6 separate regions of the Homo sapiens genome follow, and regions 1, 2, 3, 4 and 5 are each linked to region 6. Evidence: promoter capture Hi-C in 16 types of primary human blood cells and fetal thymus (Javierre and others, 2016). All regions are on one chromosome and are shown on one strand. The core of a region is centred on a gene start or on the middle of the fragment in contact, and the rest is flanking DNA. Distances in the headings are between cores, read along the strand shown. Region 1 overlaps SKAP2 (src kinase associated phosphoprotein 2). Region 2 overlaps SKAP2 (src kinase associated phosphoprotein 2). Region 3 overlaps SKAP2 (src kinase associated phosphoprotein 2). Region 4 overlaps SKAP2 (src kinase associated phosphoprotein 2). Region 5 overlaps SKAP2 (src kinase associated phosphoprotein 2). Region 6 holds the start of HOXA5 (homeobox A5).

What was found. Contacts are between HindIII fragments. The CHiCAGO score rates a contact against its expected background, and 5 or more counts as called.
Region 1: a fragment that was not itself captured here is called in contact with the fragment with the promoter of HOXA5 in region 6 in 7 of 17 cell types (megakaryocytes, endothelial precursors, erythroblasts and 4 more); the score reaches 9.5 in megakaryocytes.
Region 2: a fragment that was not itself captured here is called in contact with the fragment with the promoter of HOXA5 in region 6 in 1 of 17 cell types (neutrophils); the score reaches 6.0 in neutrophils.
Region 3: a fragment that was not itself captured here is called in contact with the fragment with the promoter of HOXA5 in region 6 in 1 of 17 cell types (neutrophils); the score reaches 5.8 in neutrophils.
Region 4: a fragment that was not itself captured here is called in contact with the fragment with the promoter of HOXA5 in region 6 in 10 of 17 cell types (endothelial precursors, total CD8 T cells, megakaryocytes and 7 more); the score reaches 12.9 in endothelial precursors.
Region 5: a fragment that was not itself captured here is called in contact with the fragment with the promoter of HOXA5 in region 6 in 1 of 17 cell types (neutrophils); the score reaches 7.6 in neutrophils.

Annotation. Positions count from the first base shown.
Region 1 is chr7:26,671,365-26,674,761 of GRCh38, forward strand. All of the region lies in intron 11 of SKAP2 (src kinase associated phosphoprotein 2), which reads right to left. Among named protein-coding and RNA genes, the nearest start is that of LINC02860, 35 kb to the left of the region's middle. The HindIII fragment of the contact is 5,282 bases long and covers 1-3,397 here.
Region 2 is chr7:26,730,550-26,733,570 of GRCh38, forward strand. All of the region lies in intron 6 of SKAP2 (src kinase associated phosphoprotein 2), which reads right to left. Among named protein-coding and RNA genes, the nearest start is that of LINC02860, 94 kb to the left of the region's middle. The HindIII fragment of the contact is 2,978 bases long and covers 1-2,883 here.
Region 3 is chr7:26,777,945-26,781,093 of GRCh38, forward strand. The region is part of intron 4 of SKAP2 (src kinase associated phosphoprotein 2); the gene reads right to left. Among named protein-coding and RNA genes, the nearest start is that of SKAP2, 85 kb to the right of the region's middle. The HindIII fragment of the contact is 3,889 bases long and covers 1-3,149 here.
Region 4 is chr7:26,690,503-26,693,885 of GRCh38, forward strand. The region is part of intron 9 of SKAP2 (src kinase associated phosphoprotein 2); the gene reads right to left. Among named protein-coding and RNA genes, the nearest start is that of LINC02860, 54 kb to the left of the region's middle. The HindIII fragment of the contact is 311 bases long and covers 1,664-1,974 here.
Region 5 is chr7:26,814,913-26,818,201 of GRCh38, forward strand. All of the region lies in intron 4 of SKAP2 (src kinase associated phosphoprotein 2), which reads right to left. All of the region lies in intron 1 of LOC124901606 (a long non-coding RNA gene), which reads left to right. Among named protein-coding and RNA genes, the nearest start is that of SKAP2, 48 kb to the right of the region's middle. The HindIII fragment of the contact is 6,899 bases long and covers 1-3,289 here.
Region 6 is chr7:27,141,612-27,144,931 of GRCh38, forward strand. HOXA5 (homeobox A5) reads right to left here and starts at 2,070. Exons shown (of 2, transcript NM_019102.4): 1 at 1,435-2,070; 2 at 1-474. The coding sequence starts at 1,996. The coding sequence ends at 224. All of the region lies in intron 1 of HOXA3 (homeobox A3), which reads right to left. The region is part of intron 1 of HOXA-AS3 (HOXA cluster antisense RNA 3); the gene reads left to right. The HindIII fragment of the contact is 13,335 bases long and covers 539-3,320 here.

The DNA.
Region 1 (3,397 bases), core at 609-3,108, 470 kb before region 6:
ATATGTGGGGAGGGAATGTTAATACTAGTACAGACTTAATATTTGTATTGATTAGTATGCTATTGACCATCAGAAAGGAAAATTATGCAATTCTTTAATACAAATGTAGCATTACATTAGCGTGTATGTATTGATATGTAGTCTATCAATAGAGAGATTATAGGATAAAATCCATAGGCACTTTTTCAAACAGTGGGCAGTATCAGGATTAGGTTTATTGGAAGAACAAAGTGGAGGGGGAGAGGGGAGAAAAGACCACTCCTGCTATTGTTATTCTATTGAGGGCACAGCTCTGGCTTGTGAGGCAGTAAACTCAAGATTTTAAGTTTTAAACTTTTAAAGTTCATTGATAGTGTGAACTTAGTGGACGAAGCTGTATAAGGAACGAGGATACTCTGATGCCCAGAACCCAATGATGGCTATAATCTATGTAGGACATATTTATCAGAAGAAAATACTAACTTACTGAAAGTCATGATTAGCAACGATTATATCTTAATAGGTACCTAATAAAACTACCCTTTTCTATTTTTAAGGCAATGAATACAATTAAAGCCTAATGCTTAAAAAAACACACGTACTTAACGTTCCACAGACTACTGTAAGATTTCAAAGTGGATAATTAACAGGGTAGGTCTGAGTGTTAAAGCTCTTATTCAATGCCAATATAAGATTTTTGAAACTGATTATTTGGAATGAGAAAAGGAACTAGCCCCCTGCTCCCCAGTGACAGACATAGAAAACATTCAGTGAGAAGACATATTATTGGCATAAACTTGCTTCCAGAGAATGGCCCTCAATCTGGGGGTCAATGCTTAGATTCAAATTACAAGACAGAAAGTTATTACTTTATAATATTCTACTTTGGTCATAGTCTATGCTATCAACTAAAGGCATGTTATCATTTTCAAAAAGTTACTCACACCCAAATTTAAGAAATTAGTTCCCAAGAAATCACATCAACAAGGGCAGACTTCACAGTTGAGAGAATTCTGTGCTATGGTAGAACAGGAAGATTTATTAACTAGAAAGCATAGTGGTAAACAGCAGGGAGGAGCTTAATCAACTATAAACAAATCCCTTAAAAGTTATACTCTAGGGAGAAAAAAGGTTTAGACTAAAATAATCTTAAATGCTTCACTTAATTTAAAATAATTGAAAAACATAGGAAACATACACTTGATAAAAATACTCTAAAATATCAGATTTAAATCAGAAAAGGTAAAACTAAAAACCAGAATATTACCTTATATTTGTAAAGAATTGCAAATTATATTCCTGTTTGAAATTAATGCATTATGATCAAATATAGTGAGGTAAAAATACAGGAGGCAAATTTATGGATTTACACTGCAGCCATTAGAGTGTTGACAAGACTGCAAATACAGGAGCTTTTTACTTTTATCATTACTATTCTCTGTATGAGCCTCCTGAGCAACATGAATCCCAATTAAACCATTTGCAGCCTATAAATTGGAATGAAAATGCTTCTTGGAGTACAGTATTCTAAACTTTGGCCTGAACATTCAATATTGTACAAGGTTTCCTTCTGAAAAAGAAAATCTGCCTGTCTATGCCTTTCCTCTTTTCCACCCCCAAACAAATGTGATTATGAATGATATATTACTTACAGTGGAAAATAATGCAACTGATACAATGTTGTTTTGCAGTCCACAAACTAATTATAGTATTGTTCTATAAAGTCACAAGTGGATCATTTAAAAAACAAAAAGGAAAACTCTCAAACTTTATCTTCTTAGCAAACAAAAAATAGACAATCCATACCAGGCTGTTGTCTAAATCTTTGAAATGTTAGGAAGCATCATGTAATCTTTATGGAACACAAGGTTTCAGGTACAAGGAGGTCTGCCATCTGGTATCCTTCACCTATTCAGCTCTTAACATCAGCTGAAATGCTAACATAGGCAAGTGACTGTACTTCAGGAGGACTGATAAAATAATGAAGAGTCCTTTAATCTACAGGAAACCATTCTAGTCAATTTATAAGAAATATTGCATCCCTTTGTAGGACGTGTAATTATTTTCTATTAATCATGTGCTATAAAGCTACATTATGCGGTTATTCTGTTATCACTAGAAAGAGGCCTGCAGTCAGCTTCTGACAATGTTAGGTAATTACTAACACAAAGCTGCTTTCTCCTCCTGCAGTAATGCTATCAAGATCCAGAGGTGTAGTGATGCTTATTGTATAAAAATAGTACTCAAAAGAAATTCAATATCTGCAAAATGGATGGCTTCAAGGCAAAATGTAGTGTGGCAATCAAAGAAGCAAAAAAAAGCCAAACTTGCCCAGTAATCCGAGAAAATAATAGTAAGGCGGTAGTGAATGCTTGTGATCTAACTCCCATGTTTTCAATTTTCATACCATTATAGTCATTTTATTTGTTTTATTTTGTAGTTGAAATTTTAGTCCCCAATTAATATTTATTGAGCAGTAAGAGTGACTGGGTAAGAAGGCAGGAAAAAGGACTAGTTATGATAAAGTGAAACAGAGACTTTATCCAACATAATAGTAATATTTACTCATTAACTAAATCTTCTTTCTCTGCTGGAATATTATTTTACACTTAAATAAGGCCCCAACATTTACTTAAATCTTTTTCAGCACCATGACTGTCATTTATCGAGTATGTTAATCCGCTTTCTGCGAATGATATGGTAAAAGAATGCTGACTTAACAGAAACCTGAAACATTAAAAGATTTAATAATGTACTAACCCTTTCAGAAATTAGTTACCGATGTGTTTGAAAGCAACAGGTGTTTGCAATGTTAAAAAAAATTTGTGTCCTTTTCCAAACATATATCTGTGCTTCAAAACACACCAGCCTTTTGTGAAAATGAAAGTAATTTTATTCACAAAACATAAAATACAGCAAGTTTAAGAACCAATGGACTTGACTGTTGTTTTCCAAGTATTCTTCATTGTGATATCTTTATTCATAAACACTGTAATACTATGAAAACTAGATACCTATTTAAAGTGTATAAATACTTTCATCAAGGCTACCTCTTTAGTCTCTTTTTTATTAACTCCGATTAGAAACTTTGTAAGAATCCTCTCATTTCTCATACATTCATTGTTTCAAAAGGTTATCTTTATAAATGCACAACAGGAACTGTACAACCTCGGCGTTTTACTATTACTATCTATACATTAACTACTTGAATCTTAGATTCCTAACCTGTTAAATGAGGAAACTGACACAATCTCTAAGGACCTCCATGATGTTTGAGCACCACCATTCAGGAACCTGATTGAAGACACTAAGTTCTCTAGTGGTGTACGGAGATCAATCTCATTACTTTGCAATTTACTTTGCAGGTGTGACTTTGAGTTCCTCTAATTCAAAGAATTACTGTTTTTCCTCCTTGCAT
Region 2 (3,021 bases), core at 145-2,644, 410 kb before region 6:
TATAACACATTGATGCCTTCAGAATTTTTGAGGTGTTTGTTCCTCTATTACATTTCTCTCAGCTTCTGTTTCACACTTTAACCTAACCTCTATCATGCTGTTTGAATGTAATGTCTACAGAACTGAAGGCTGCCAGGAAAAACTAGATAATGAAATCTATTATATCAGTAACTTAATTTTACACAATCCTAATTCAGCAGGTTCAAGGTAAAAAGCAGTTGGCTCTGATTTCCTACAAAACAAAATGCATAAGGCTAATAAGAGCAATTTCCTTCTACTTTTTCACTGGCTTTTAGGTTTACAGCTGTGTTCTGGGGGTTTTTTAAGCTGTCAAAAAGACAACTCACATTTACTGAGCTTCTACATGTCAAGAACTTAATAGAACATATCTCATATACACCTGGTAATAATTCTAAGCAATAGAGGAGACATATTATATTCCCAGCACTGATGGGAAAACAAACTTTAACCAATTTGCTCACGGTCACACAAATAGTAAACAGTAAAAGCCAGGACCCTAGGAAAGTCTGGTTCTAAAGCCTTGCTTTTTCAGCCATTTCACACTGTTTTCTAAAAAGGTGTTTCTCAAAGTATATTTTAAGAATCACCTATGTTAGAATCAACTTGGACGCCTGTTAACACAGAATTGGCTACCACTCTGCACTTGCTATATAGGAATCTCTGTGGGTGAGTCTAGGAAACCAAATTTTTAGCAAGCACCCCAGGTGATTTTGATACACACTACAACCACTGTCCTCAATACAATGTGAAATATACAAAATCACGGTAGAGAAGATAAATGTTATTTTGCATTTCGTCCTACAACTTAGGTCAAACTTTCTCAGCTTTCTTTATGGGTTCCTCTACCTCTGCCTATCTCTTAAAAAGCTATGATGCGTTGTTCTAAGTCTTGCTCTCTTCTTACATTACACTCTCCCTGGGCAATCTCATCTAATTCCAAGAATTAAATTCCTATCAATATACTTGTGACTCATGATTCTCTACTTTTAGTTCATTTTCAAAACTGTTTATCCAAATCTTCATCTGCTCACTAAATATGTTTCATTTCTCAAATGTCCTATAGGCTCATTGAATAGAAAGTGCCCACAATGGAGATCATCTTATCCCCACTCCCAACACTTGTGATGCCAACAACTGTGATATTTCTTGTTGTATCCCCCATCTCAATAAATGGCACCTCCATTAATTCAAGCTCCCAAACCAGAAAACTGGGCACCATTTTTTATTTTGCCCTTACCTTCACCAACTGCCCCGACGTTACCCCCTACACTCCAATGCCACCTACCAAAATCTAAACAGACCTTCTATTTTTCTGGCAAATATACTTGTTTTTTCTCTTCTTCATTGGCTCTCAGAAAAATATGCTTAAAACACCAACCACTCTCATACCATTTTAAATACAGCATAAATATTGCAACCAAATAATTCCAAATCCTTTAGCATCCCTACAAGTTATGGACATTTATTATTTGGGGCTCCCCAGCATCCATGCATCTTTCCTATTTTAATTCCAAGATTGTCAGGGATAGGGCTTAGTTTTCCATCACAGAAGCTGGAGAGAGATGGATTTTCCCTGTTCCAACTTAATCAAAGTGGATGCTCCAGACTGGAACCTAAATCTCCAGTAAGTAACAAAAGGATCAAGAGAGGGTTCAGAATCCATTCTGGTGGCAATGGCACTCACTGATTGATGGCAGTGCACAGTGGCAACATCACATGTCCTGGCTTGGCAAGGCCCAAGCCAGCAGTGTGTCCCAATAAGATTTTTCATGGATTATGCTCAAGATCCAGCCCCCTTACCTACCTTAGTTCTTGCTTGCTTGCTGAGCCTGTGTGTAGCATTCTTAGCAATTCTGAGAGCTGATATTTTCCTAATAATTTCCCTTTCTGCATAAACAAAGTTGGTTTCCGATGCTTATACCAAGAACACTAACTTGGCACAAATGGCTAGCAAACAAAAATATGAAATGTGTTCAGCAATATCTACTACTTATATTTAAGAAGGCCTTTTCCCTTCAGTGAATAACTTACGTTATTTCCACAAGTATTAGTACTCATTAGTAGGGAAAAGAAAAATATGCCCATCAATACTAGACCTTGCCACTAAATTTTATCAAACTGACTAGCAAGATGTTCCAGCTCCTCAGTTAAAGATATATGAACATTCTCCTTTGGTTTATACAGCTTGCAGATGCCAATGCTAAATCAGCCACTTGAAATATATCTCTGGGGTTTTGTGTAGAAGTGAGACTAGATATCAAACCAACAACATTCGTGGTCATCAGACCCTTAGTAAAACTTGGTTTGTACCTGACTATTTCTGCATGTTGATGAAATCCTACTAAACATCAGATGTACATTTTAACTTCTATATACTGTTAGAGAGTCTCTTAGCCATAAAGGCAGAAAATAAAGGCATAGCTTTAATTTAATGTTTGTAATCCCAGCTACTCAGGAGGCTGAGGCAGAAGAATCGCTTGAACCCGGGAGGCGGAGGTTGCAGTGTGCTGAGATCATGCCACTGCACTCTGGCCTGGGCAACAGAGCGAGACCCCGTCTCAAAAAAAAAAAAAAGTTTATTGTGATAAGTTTTAAAGTTAATACTTTCATATCAAAGACCCAAAAGTCTATAAAATTGTAATAATTTCTGATAAAAGTAGAATTAATGGTTCCTATTTCTTAAGGAATAAAGATATCCTTCACATACCAGATGGAAACAGAATTGCAATTTAAATTTTTTAAATATCAGAATTCACTTACACATTTAATATATATCATCTTGATATAATTATAAAATTATATAATTACAATTATAAAATGACAGAATTTGTTTCTGTCAAATGAATCAGAAGAAAAAAGGTAAGCTTTTATGGCTTTCTATTAAGTTGTTGTTACAAAACAACAGAACTTTTAATTATACAAATATAAGTACTGTCACTTTAACATATTCAAAACAATATTAAAAGAGAAATATGATGCTTTTTCAACATCAAAATATAT
Region 3 (3,149 bases), core at 24-2,523, 360 kb before region 6:
TTAAATCCTGAGAATATATAATTTTATAAGCTATAAATTTTGAAATGCCAATCCTATTAATTATATTTTGTTAGTTCTATAGCAAAAGGTAGCACAGAACCCTTTTGATGACCCTAAATTGATTCCTAACCACTGAGACCTAAGTCAGAACACTGCCAGGCTATAAGAATTGTAATGACAAGTCTAAAAGTTGTTTGTTCTAGGAAAATCATTATTGGTATATACGAAAGCACTTATTTTTAAGGGATGGGGGAAAAGCATTTCAGGGAGGCAAAATTCACAGTACTTAAAAGAACACGGCTGGGTTTAGCCTAGGCTCCCTTGGGGAAATACGACATTTAATCTCAGTTTCCTCAGCTGCAGAAGGGAACAATAAAAGCACCAATCTCAATTTGATGACTAAATGAAATAATTTATATAAAGTACTTAGAGCAAAATTTGACAGTGTTCTAGGCCCTTCTAGTTCCATACTATGATTCCGCTAACAATCAGTGCTGCACACATTCTCATATTTTTAAATTCATATAAAGGACATAAAGAACAGCAAAGAACTTTGAACTGATGGACATATTTCTATCACTGCATCCATTATTCTTCACTATATTAATCTGTTTATGTCTGTGAAGAGTACAGCACATTGGTCAAAGTCATTAGTTCAGGAGTCAGGTCCAGGTTTCCCAGTTCAAATTCAGCCACTAAAAACTGCATGACCTCAGATAAGTTACTTATCTGGGAAAGCAGGTAACACCTTACATCAAACATATATGTTTCTTCTGTGTCTAAAAGAAATACATTTTGGGATCAAGTAATGTAAACATGTAATACAAATTACATACATATTGTATACATGTATATAATATATAAAATAAATTTAAAGCAAAATAAATTTATTTCCTCTCCAATATTTGATATAACTTTTGAAGTAAATAAATGAATTACAATGATCTTCACTGTCAACATCAAAAGCAGCTATAAAGACTATTTTTCAGACTATGTAATGTCTGCTTTAATAGCCAAGACATTCTAAACTTAAGTCTAGAATTTCAAAGGACTCAGTAAGTTAAGCCCACTAGTTGAAATGAACTAGGAGGCAGTAAGTTTGAATGAGTGACAAGATTTAATTTTTAAAGATATTTTTCATAAAACAGTAATAACTGTTCTTAATTTGTGAATAGAAATGTGAATTCAAATATGTTATCAATAATTCCATAAAAATGTCTGATGGGGGCATCCTGCTTTTAAAAACTTATTAAGGATTACTTGTAATTGCTACCATTAAATAGCTGTTTATAAAATAAAAGAATGATTGTAATAAGATATTTCCTCTACAATCATTTTTACACAGTGAATTCTACTTTTACTTACAGACAGAATACAATTACCTGCCCTTATTACCACAAATTCTGAACTAATGGAAATAATTCCATTCATTTTATAAGTAGGTCTCTATGTTACAGATGGGAAAAATCTGAAGCCTAACAATACTCAATGAAATTTAATAAAGATAAAATGCAACTTTGTTCGTTGACATCAAATATCCCAATTAATATCTAAGACAGAAATGGAATACATTTTAATCTTTCCCTAATCTCAAAATTGACAACCACATGACAAAGCATTTCAATTCATATCATTCTATAAAATATACTGTTTAAATTAAGATTAGCTTCTTATTGGGATTCTGAGGGAAAATGTTCATGCACGACTTGATTTCAAGGCAATGAGAAATTACTGGAGGATTTTGGTCAGGGAGGTAACATAACATGTTAAAAAAATGTAGAGGGAAAAATTATTGAATTGGTCATAAATTAGATATAAACAACAGAAAATATGCCTAGAGTCTGCTTTTAAAAAACAAGTAATTTGTGTTTTAAGACAGGAGAGCCTGTTATACAATAATCCAATCTGCTAAAGTCATCATTAAAAACAGGTTTAAATAATTTCTATTTGAAATTAGATGACCTGCACTGACTAAGCTCTTATGTACAAACATTACAAACCAGGAGTGCCTGAAGTGAGAACAAGCAATTAGGGTCAACCAAAGGAAAACACTGTTATCTCTGACTCAAGAAATATAATATATTCAATAGAAAGTACTTGTAAGGTATGTACATGTGAGAAAATCACTGAGGTAAGTGTGAAAGACAGCCAAACTGGCCTGTTTCATCCCTGACTGACTTTGGAGAAGTTGCTTAACCTCTCTGTGCTGATTCCTGTAAAATGAGATATGTTAGTGGCTCATAGAGTTGTATGGATTAAATGAGTTAATGTGTGAAAAGTGCCCTGAAGAGTATCTGGCACATTAGCAAATGCTCAATAAATGGTAGCTGTTGCAATTATTATTGTGGTAAAGTTGTTTTATTCTGCTTAGTTCAACTCATGCTTCTGTCATCTGTCTCTCAGAAGCATTCATTTGGTTTTGAATGACCTAAATAATTTCCATTGTTGCATAGGGGCTATCTAGACTGGGGATGGATAATACATTTTTTCAGCTTTAGTGGCCAGACAGATTCTGTTACAACTACTTACTTCTTTTGAAGTAGCTTGAAAGCAGTCACAGATAATACGTAATGAATGAGCATGATTGTGTCCCAATAAAACTTAACTTATGGGCACTGAAATTTGAATTTCATATTATTTTCATCTCATGAAATATTGCTTTTATTTTTTTCAATCATTAAAAATATAAAAACCACTCTTAGCTTACAGGCTGTACAAAAACAGGTGGTAAGCTAGTTTGCCCATATATACACATAGATAAACACAGAACCCTCTTGGTCATAATTCCTCCATATATAAAACCAAAGTAATTGTGATCAGCTTTCCCAACTTTTAGATGTTCAAAAAGCAAAATTTATTTTCACATGAGGAGTAATGTCTAATTCATGGGCCCAATCTTTTCCCTAACTTGCTCCAGTCCAACATACTACATAAAAAATCATGGCTAAACCAGTGCAAAAAGGCTATTGTACTACGTATCATCTGAGTCTCAGGCCATAGTGTATTAAGGATATGTTTATAAATTTCAAAGTTTCACTTTCAGAGATCACTATAATATACAAATTCCTATTATAATGTTAACTTTATTTACCAATGTTTATTTTATAAGATAACTAGAGCTGTTGCCTTTTTGTCATTAACACAAAAGA
Region 4 (3,383 bases), core at 569-3,068, 450 kb before region 6:
ACAGTCCTTTTTCGACAATCTAACACTGAATAAATAAAATACTAGCTACTGCCAAATAGCAACCTTTCCAACTTTCCACATAGCAAACTTTCCAACTTTCCAATAAAATACTAGCTACTTCCAAATAGCAACCTTTCCAACTGGCTTGGCAAAATTTAAGATATGTACTAATGCACTGCATGTTTTGTTTTAAATACTTTTAGAAACTCATCTGGAACAATCTTAATTTCAGGAAAACCCTTAAATCCAGTAAAGTAACACCCAGCGTTATACTGATACACCACATTGTACTGTGTGGCAGGAGTATCATATATAAAATCATGGTCCCTAAAACATCATATAGCAAGGAGAAATGTGTGATTAAAAATGCAGTTAACCTATAAATCATTTTTTTGAGTATCACATAATTTCATACGTTTTCTCAATCTTCACAGGAAGATACTATAATGATCTTCATCCTTTGAGGTAATTCCCCCAAAATTATACCAAGGACCTATTATGTGTCATATACAATGCTGGATGTTAAAATCTCATAGACAAATAATTTTTAATCCTCATTCTACAGACAAGTTTATCTTTAGAGACTCAAAAAGGTGAAGTAACTTCCAAAGTGTGTCATTCGAACTTAAGTTTGTGATTATAAAGTCAATGTTCTTTATCCTACATATAATCAGTGCTCCATTTACATTTGTTCCACACTCACCTATACCATTCCTTCCCCAAATTATGCAAAGAAATAAGATAAAATTAAATGAGAAGAGCTTTAAATAGACTTAATAAACTAATTCATTTACACCAAGAAAAATATTTATTACATGATTTTTCCTCACCTAAGGATTTGCATACAAACCTAGAAATACTTAAGGCAGGACATATAAACAAATGGCATGCCAAAGAAAAACTGGATTCAAAGAGAATCATAATTTCAAGAAAACTCCTAAAACTTTAAAGAAAAATATGCAAAATATATAAATGTAGTCATTGTAACTATTCAATCAATCAGTCAATCAATCTTCATTGGATATTAACTAACTGTGAGACAGAAGAGATCTACCAAGGAGGTAAAAGTAACAGGAAGCCTCTGCTCACAGGAAGCTGACAGCACAGATGGGACAGAAGACAAGCTCTAAAGGAAAACAGGCTGAAGGGGCCTAAACCTGACAAGTGATGCACAAAGCACTGAAGAAGTGCAGCAGAGAAACCCCCCAACTAGGGAGTACCACGGAGGCTCCAAGGGATGGAGAGAGTTTAAATAAGGAGAGAGGATAAGAAGGATATTTCCGGAGGGATAGGTATGATCTTTAAAAGAAAAAGGCATGTTCATATTCATTTTGACTAAAGAATCTGGTACACATAGGGGAAGAGCTGGGTAGGAGTTACGCTCATAGTTTGGACCAGCTGTTGAGGGGCCATGAACATCTTGTTATGGACTGCAGGCTTTTATTTGGTGGGCAATAAGAGCCTTCGAAGGTTTTTTGAGCAGAGAAAGGGCAGGACTGAAGCTATGCTTCAGGAATGGACATCTGATCCCATTGTCTCAGACAGCCTAAAAAAGGGGCGGGAGAGAGACTACTGTGGATAAAGGGGAAGGAAGTCCTGAACTGAAGGGGCAAAGGAAATGGAAAGGAGATGGTTATAAGAGGTAAAGGAACTAGAATGGATAAGCTTTGTGCCTGAATGTGGAGGAATGAGGGGGGGGAAAAGAGCAACAAAGGATGGCTAAGGTTTTGAGCTTAGTTAACTGAGAAATGGACATATTATTACTAAAAGGAGGATAGCCAAAATAATCTATCTTACTGGGGAACACAAAGAGTTGTGTTTTCAACAGGAGGAATTTAATGTATTGGTGAGGCAACCCAGAGAACATGTCTGGGCAACTGCAAAGTATGGTAGAGCAGTCAGGACTACAGGTGGAAATTTAGGAGTCTCCTGAAAATGTTAAATGGGGATGAATCAAAATCAGCATTTCAACCAAGCTTGAGAGGGTAGCTGTACTTACACGACAAATAGAACTGTTCTGAATTTCTGTAACTCAATTCAAACAAAATAATGACAACTCCAATATAAGGGACACCTGAAAATATCTGGCATTTTATTCATATTGTTAAACATAACACTGACAATTTAATATGGTTCAGTCAAATATATAGAAGACCTAATAAAAGTATACCACTCTTTTAAAAAGTATCCTGTCTCTTTTCTTTTTAACAATAGTTATCTCACTTATGCCAAACCTTAAAGGCTAGCTTTAATAAATGGGTTAATAGGGTGTTTCCATATAAATTTTTAAAGGTAGAAGGAACGTTTACAGTCATTATTCCAACCTACTCATTTTATTGACAGATAATTTGGTAAAAGGTGAAGGAGAAAGCTTTCCTTACTTTTCACACTTTCTTTCCATAGCACCCACTCCCCTTTTAATTTAGTCACAAATTCAATAGTAAGAAATAAATTAAAAAATGGATAAAGGCACTCGTCCTCAGTCAAAAGCTATAACCGCATCAATACAATAAGTATTATTAGTGGCTTTTAAGAAGAGACTGTGGGGGCTGGGCATGGTCGGTCACGCCTGTAATCCCAGCACTTTGAGAGGCCCAGGCGGGTGGATCACCTGAGATCAGGAGTTCGAGACAAGCCTGGCCAACATGGCAAAACCACGTCTCTACTAAAAATACAAAAATTAGCATGGCATGGTGGCAGGCGCTTGTAATCTCAGCTACTCAGGAGACTGAGGAAGGAGAATCGCTTGAACCTGGGAGGCGGAGGTTGCAATGAGCTGAGATCGCGCCACTGCACTCCAGTCTGGGCGACAAGAGTGAAGCTCCATCTCAAAAAAAAAAAAAAAAAAAAAGAGACTGTGGGATTTAGATTTCACCACCCAAATCAGCATGAACATATAAAAATTCATTACAAGACTTAATGAAAAAACTCTGCTCTTTGACAAAGTTAACAATGAATTTAGAAGTATTTGTTACTATGAATTTTTTATTTTATTAAAACTTAAGTGCCAGTAACATGTGCTCTGGATTGTATATTGGTGTCAGAGAGCTTTGTTCTTAGAAATATGCACTCTTAAATTATCAGAATAATGATATTAAAAGTATTTACTTAAGAATTAATGTTTACTATAAAATATCCAAATTGAAATCCATGTAAGATGCCATTTAATAAGCAGATTTTAGAGGATGAGATGCTCATTAAGGACACTTCCTTTTTCCATTTTAAACCTGGTAGCGATATTTTTAAACCAAAGCTTTATGCATTTAATATATCAATTTTTCTTAACAATATTTAAACAACTCATTTTATCTTGGCTAACAATACAAATAGCTTCCATATAAAAGATAACAAAATCAAATATGGTGTATGTTTTTGAATCTTAG
Region 5 (3,289 bases), core at 714-3,213, 330 kb before region 6:
AATTTTTGCCTTCATCAAAAATATCTAGTTAAGTGTAATATGAAAAATAGAAATGTGCTTAGGCTATTCTTTTTAATTACTGAAACTCAGAACTACCTTTCAAAATTACTCTTTTAAATTGTTATGAATGTCATTAGACATAACAGTAAAACCACCTATCTACAAAATAAAACACAAGATAATATACAAATGGTCTTTTTTTTTTTAAGGGGATAAAGTATTACTGGGTATTAGAAGTTTATCTGTGCCACTAATAGGGACTTCTAAACATTCGTGACTAGGAAATGACTGCAGTAATAACAGGATTTTAAATGCAAATTCAAATAATTTAAAAACACATACAGGTTTGAATGAAACAGAAAACCTGTACAATTAATTTTAATCTCTCTTGAAAGGGAGAGCTACTAAAGAACTAGACAGAATACAATACAGAGAATAGAATCTCAAGGTTGACACATAATATAGGATTTGTTTAGGTGCATTCTACTTTTTTCACAATAAAATCCTGCCATGCTATCATAAATGGCCAAAGAAGATTCTCTAAATAAAAATCAATAATTAGTTTTAAAAGGGTCGAATAGCAAAAAACATCCCATCAGCTGTCTAACAATATGACAAACTCAGTAACAGCCACAAAGAACCAATATAACTTATGGTGCCAAGGAGCCAGATGGTACTGCTGGAAAAAATTAAGTCTACAGATTGGCAGTTCGACCCTGTGATTATTGCCCAAGGGAGGACAAAGTGGAAGACGAGTGGGAGGTTCAGTATGATGGAGGATAAATCAATTACCACCAACTCACTACATTCTTCCTATGATACCCAAATAACAGATTCTAAATACCACATCAGTAAATTTTTCAAGGTTTAAGTAGCCCCAAACTTAGTTGGGAATGATAAAACAGTATATAGTAAAAAGTAGAATATAATCTCAGTTTTTCATCTTAAGCCCTAGTCAATTATATTGATAACCTGACCCAACTGCATAAAATCCACATACAATAAACACTAAAGCATTTTAGTATAGCTCCATTACTTAAAAATCAGGCTTTTAAAAAATTTTTGAAATTTTGCTTGACATTAAATGACAGCATTTGTTAAAATTCTATTTACTTTCCAAAAGGAGAATTATAAATAGATAATGGTTGCATATGATGATCTCATGGCTAAATAACTGACTTAACACGTTTTCTAACAAATGTTTTGTTCATGTTTTTGCTTATAAAAAGAAGCATTTCCCACTTTGTGCTATATAAAGAATGCTAAAGAAGTAGCAACATCGCAAGACACGTTCAAAATCCAACCACACGGTAGATAAAAGATAAGTGCATTGTTAATTTATGCAATTATGAAAAAATATCAATTTTACTCATACTTTTGAAATGAAAAATAGTTACATATTCAGCATTAACTGGCAGAGCTTATGCTGAGAAAAAATTTTTGTTTCTTTGGCCTCCTATCACTTATGAATACATACAGCTGTTTTGTATTACTCTAGTTTTAGTAGGCCAGATATTAAGATAAGAATATTAGGAATACTAAGATATTAAAGATAAGAAAATTTAGGCTATCAATTTTTAAAATACAGTCAATTTTTACAGCTGTTTTATATTACTCTAGTTGTAGTAAGTCAGATATTAAGAAAATTAAGAATACTAAGATATTAAAAATAAGAAAATTCAGACTGTCAATTTTTACAATATAAGTATGTGTTGATGCACTTAATATATTAGTAATTACACTAAGAGATGGCCTTTGGATTTTGTCTCAAACAACAATCAGTAACAGATCAATTAGATTTCTCTAGCAAAGAAATTTGATAAGGCAAAAAAAATGTTCTGATTAATTAGTTGCTAAGTATGAAAGCAAGACTAAATTCACAAGGATTCTAGAAAAGTATTAGTCAAATCACAGGCATAAACTAATTTGATCAAAGTTCACTGAAACCTTTCTGACACATTTTCTAACATGTTACAAAAGGATAGGAAATTAATTGCTAACATGGTTTGCTCAGTGCACTATCTGAACCCCTGTTGTGGGCACAGTCACAGTGATGGAAAAATTAATCTGAGAGGATATGCTTTACCTAAACCACACCTAACTCACTTTTCCTCATCAAACAAAAATTGTGTATGCATACTTCAAATAGCTTGTTTAAAACATTTATAACATTTTAAATGGACATCAGCATTTCAACACCTTATTACACATTCCCCCACCATGATTTTGGGATAAAAAGCTGTTCAATCTTTATATATCTGGACTAAATAACAGACCAGCAATGTGTTTATAGTCTCAGAGGAGTACAGCTAGTTCACAGGAGTGTATACATTCACACAGGTCTATAGGTTTATATATCCATCAAGATTTATAAAAATACATTGAAATACATCTTTAGATGAAAATCAGAACAGAAAGACAGGGGATTTAAAAGAATGTCAGCAGAGAGGAAATATTTCATGATAACGGACACTATTAAAACTCAGTGGATAGTAAAACAGAGCAAGAAAAAAAATTGGGGAACAATTGTCAACTAAAGGAGTTATTATTATATAAAATCCAAATATCATGTATATAAAGAACAACACCTATGTCTCATGCATTTTTACCATCCAAAGGATTAGAATTCCAGTTGATACAATTGCAGACAACAACATTAAGACTTTAAATTTATTTAATTATAAAACATATAGATAGACACATGACACAGGTTTATTTCTTTTTAAAAAATCAAATTGTCTCTGTTTGCAGATGACATTATTGTATATTTAGAAAACCCCATCATCTCAGCCCAAAATCTCAAGCTGATAAGCAACTTCAGCAAAGTCTCAGGATACAAAATCAATGTGCAAAAATCACAAGCATTCCTATACACCAATAATAGACAAACAGAGAGCCAAATCATGAGTGAACTCCCATTCACAATTGCAACAAGAAGAATAAAATACCTAGGAATACAACTTACAGAAGATATGAAGGACTTCTTCAAGGAGAACTACAAACCACTGCTCAAGGAAATAAGAGAGAACACAAACAGATGGAAAAACATTCCATGCTCATGGATAGGAAGAATCAATATCATGAAAATGGCCATACTACCCAAAGTAATTTATAGATTCAATGCTATCCCCATCAAGCTACCACTGACTTTCTTCACAGAATTAGAAAAAACTACTTTAAATTTCATATGGAACCAAAAAAGAACCCGTATAGCCAAGATGACCCTAAGCAAAAAGAACAAACCTGGAGGCATGACGCTACCTGACTTCAAACTATACTACAAGGCTAC
Region 6 (3,320 bases), core at 820-3,319:
TTTCAAGACAAAGCCATTCAGGACAAAGAGATGAACAGAAAGCAGATCTACTTATACAGGCGCTATAATGGCAATAAACAGGCTCATGATTAAAAGATGAATTAGGGCAACGAGAACAGGGCTTCTTCACAGAAGGAACACAAGGGAGTTTCAGAAAGTCACCTTAGTACTGACACTACGCGGGATCCGCTAATACTGCTCAGTACTTTAAACGCTCAGATACTCAGGGACGGAAGGCCCCTCCTGCCGCGGCCATGCTCATGCTTTTCAGCTTATTATCTTTTTTCCACTTCATTCTCCGGTTTTGGAACCAGATTTTAATTTGTCTCTCGGAGAGGCAAAGAGCATGTGCTATTTCAATCCTCCTTCTGCGGGTCAGGTAACGGTTGAAGTGGAACTCCTTCTCCAGCTCCAGGGTCTGGTAGCGCGTGTAGGCCGTCCGGGCCCTTTTGCCTTCCGGGCCGCCTATGTTGTCTGCAATAGAAAAGTCAGCGGTTTAGCCACCAACTCCTGTCTTCCAAAGTCCGCCAGGGGGACAAGCTTGGGTCATGAGCAGGGAACCCAGGCGAAAAGCTCAACAAGTTCTGCCTACCAGCCCGCACACCCCTCCCGAATTTCCTTCTCTCTTCCTTTCTAGAAAGAAAACAATACGATTTGGACCCTGGGAACAATCTGCCCATCTGAGGCTGGGGCCGTGTCCCGGCGGACTCCGGCTTTCCCTGGCCCCTCTCCTGCCCCCTCCGCCCTGCCCCGGGCGCCCCGATCGGGAGGCACAGCCCTCCCAGGCTGCCCACCGCACAGAAACCCAGGAAGCAAGGCCCTTTCCTGAGCGCCCAAGTGGCCTTCGGGTCACCCTCCCTCAAAGTTCCAGCCCCGAGAGCCGCCTCCCGTTTCCAGCCTGCAGGGTTGGGGAGCCTGTTTTCTTTTTCTTCCCTTTCCTTCTCTCTCCCTCCTGCCCCCAAAATTCAGAATCCTGCAGGCTCTCGCCTCGATTCTTTCCCCCAAGCCCCTTTTCGGGGGCTGTAATTAGTAACGCTGTTTCCCCAGCGTAGCCCTCCTCATAAATTATCCGCCGTGACAAGCCCGATTCACGGCTGCTACAGCCATCCTCTACCTCTCTGCGCCTTGCTCGGCTGGCCTGACCCGGGAGCGCGTCCCAAGGCGTGGGGTTCCAGAGGGGTTTTTTGCTTCCTCCCCCTTCCAACGTCTAAACTGTCCCAGAGAACGCCCATTTCCCCCACTATTTGTGAGCGCAGGGTGCTCGCAAAGAAGAGGAGGAAGGAGGAAGGCAGGGGAGGGAGAACGGCAAGGAGAGCTCCGCAGGGCTGGGAGAAATGAGACCAAGAGAGACTGGGAGAGGGCGGCAGAGAAGAGAGGGGGGACCGAGAGCCGCGTCCCCGCGGTCGCGTGGATTTAGAAAAAGGCTGGCTTTACCATGACTTATGTGCAGCTTGCGCATCCAGGGGTAGATCTGGGGTTGGGCGGGCGGCGCCGGGCTCGGCTCGCTCTGCGCACTCGCCTGCTCGCTGCTGGCAGGGGCGTCCTCCTCGGCTCCGGACGCCGTGCCAACCCCCTCTCTGCTGCTGATGTGGGTGCTGCCGGCGTCGGCCGAGGCGCCGCTGGAGTTGCTTAGGGAGTTTTTCCCGCCGTGGTGGCTGTCGCTGCCGGGCGAGGGGGCCACGGCGGAGCAGGGCAGCGGATCGGGCTGAGGAGAGTGCGTGGACGTGGCCGGCTGGCTGTACCTGGGCTCGGCGGGCGCCGCGCTGGCGCTGGCAGCGTAGCTGCGGGCGCGCTCTCCGGAGCCAAAGTGGCCGGAGCCCGAGCGGCCGACGCTGAGATCCATGCCATTGTAGCCGTAGCCGTACCTGCCGGAGTGCATGCTCGCCGAGTCCCTGAATTGCTCGCTCACGGAACTATGATCTCCATAATTATGCAACTGGTAGTCCGGGCCATTTGGATAGCGACCGCAAAATGAGTTTACAAAATAAGAGCTCATTTGTTTTTTGATATGTGTGCTTGATTTGTGGCTCGCGGTCGTTTGTGCGTCTATAGCACCCTTGCACAATTTATGATGAATTATGGAAATGACTGGGACATGTACTTGGTTCCCTCCTACGTAGGCACCCAAATATGGGGTACGACTTCGAATCACGTGCTTTTGTTGTCCAGTCGTAAATCCTGCCTGATGACCTCTAGAGGTAAACTCGTGCACTAATAGGGGAGTTGGGTGGAGGCGAGGGGGGTGGCGCGCGCGCCCCGGGCGCGTGCCCGCCGCCAGTTGCCGCCGTTCAGCCGGACTCGAGCGCCACCCGCTGGAGGCAGGGCTCATCGCCCAGCTTCCGACCGGGGGCTGCAAGGGCCGGGGTCGAATTGAGGTTACAGCCCATTATGGCAAAATTATTGCATTTCCCTCGCAGTTCCATTAGGATGTACCAATTGTTAGGCCGTCAGCTGCCGATCGCGCGCCCGGCGAGGATGCAGAGGATTGGGGGGAGGTGGTGACTTGCATTTTATTTACAACAACTTTATTTCCCCCGTTTTGCAGCCCCTCTTATTTTTGTGTCGAGGTTGGGGTCGGTACTGACCGTCCTGCCAGCAGCTCTGAATTTTGAAAATACAGATATCACCTTCGGGGAAGGGGGAAAGCCATTTAGCCAATTGGAGAAATAAATCCTGCCCGCAGCAGCAGCAGCTACAATTACGGCTCTGTTTTTGCGAGCGCATGAGGGACAGTGTCCCTGCCGCTCTTAAATGACAGGCGTCTATTAAAGATAGCTTTTGTGTAGTGTTTCTCCAAGGCGAGGTCAAATTCCATACACTTTTATAACCGTAGTCGATTTTTCTTTCGTGTGAATATGGTTTTCGTGTCATTAGTTTGCGATTTGATTTGCTTACGTATCCAGCCTGGAAAATCTTCATCACAGGGTCCGGTTCCTCGAGCCAGCCGGGCCCCAAGTCGGAGGGTTCTCCTTGAACCCAGCGAGTGGGCCCAGGCTCCCTGCAGCCACAGAGGCTGCCTGGGGTCTGGGGATCCGTGGGGCGGGTTACTGGGGTCTTGCTTAGACCTCCAGGAGTAAAATGAGGGCGATAATGGAAGCATTCCTTGGCAGTGCCTAGTATCTCTGTAGTTATTTTCCACGGCTCCGAAAGACTCAAGTAAATCACAAATATAGCTGAGAGGCAAGTGGAGTCTCCCCGCTGGAGGCCCGGCGTTGCAGGCGCCCCTGGCACGTCTGGAAGCCAGGACTCTGGCGGCTCCCATGGCCCTGGGCCCCTCGTTGGGTCCTGAACGCTGCTGTGGCGGCGACGCGGGCGCTATC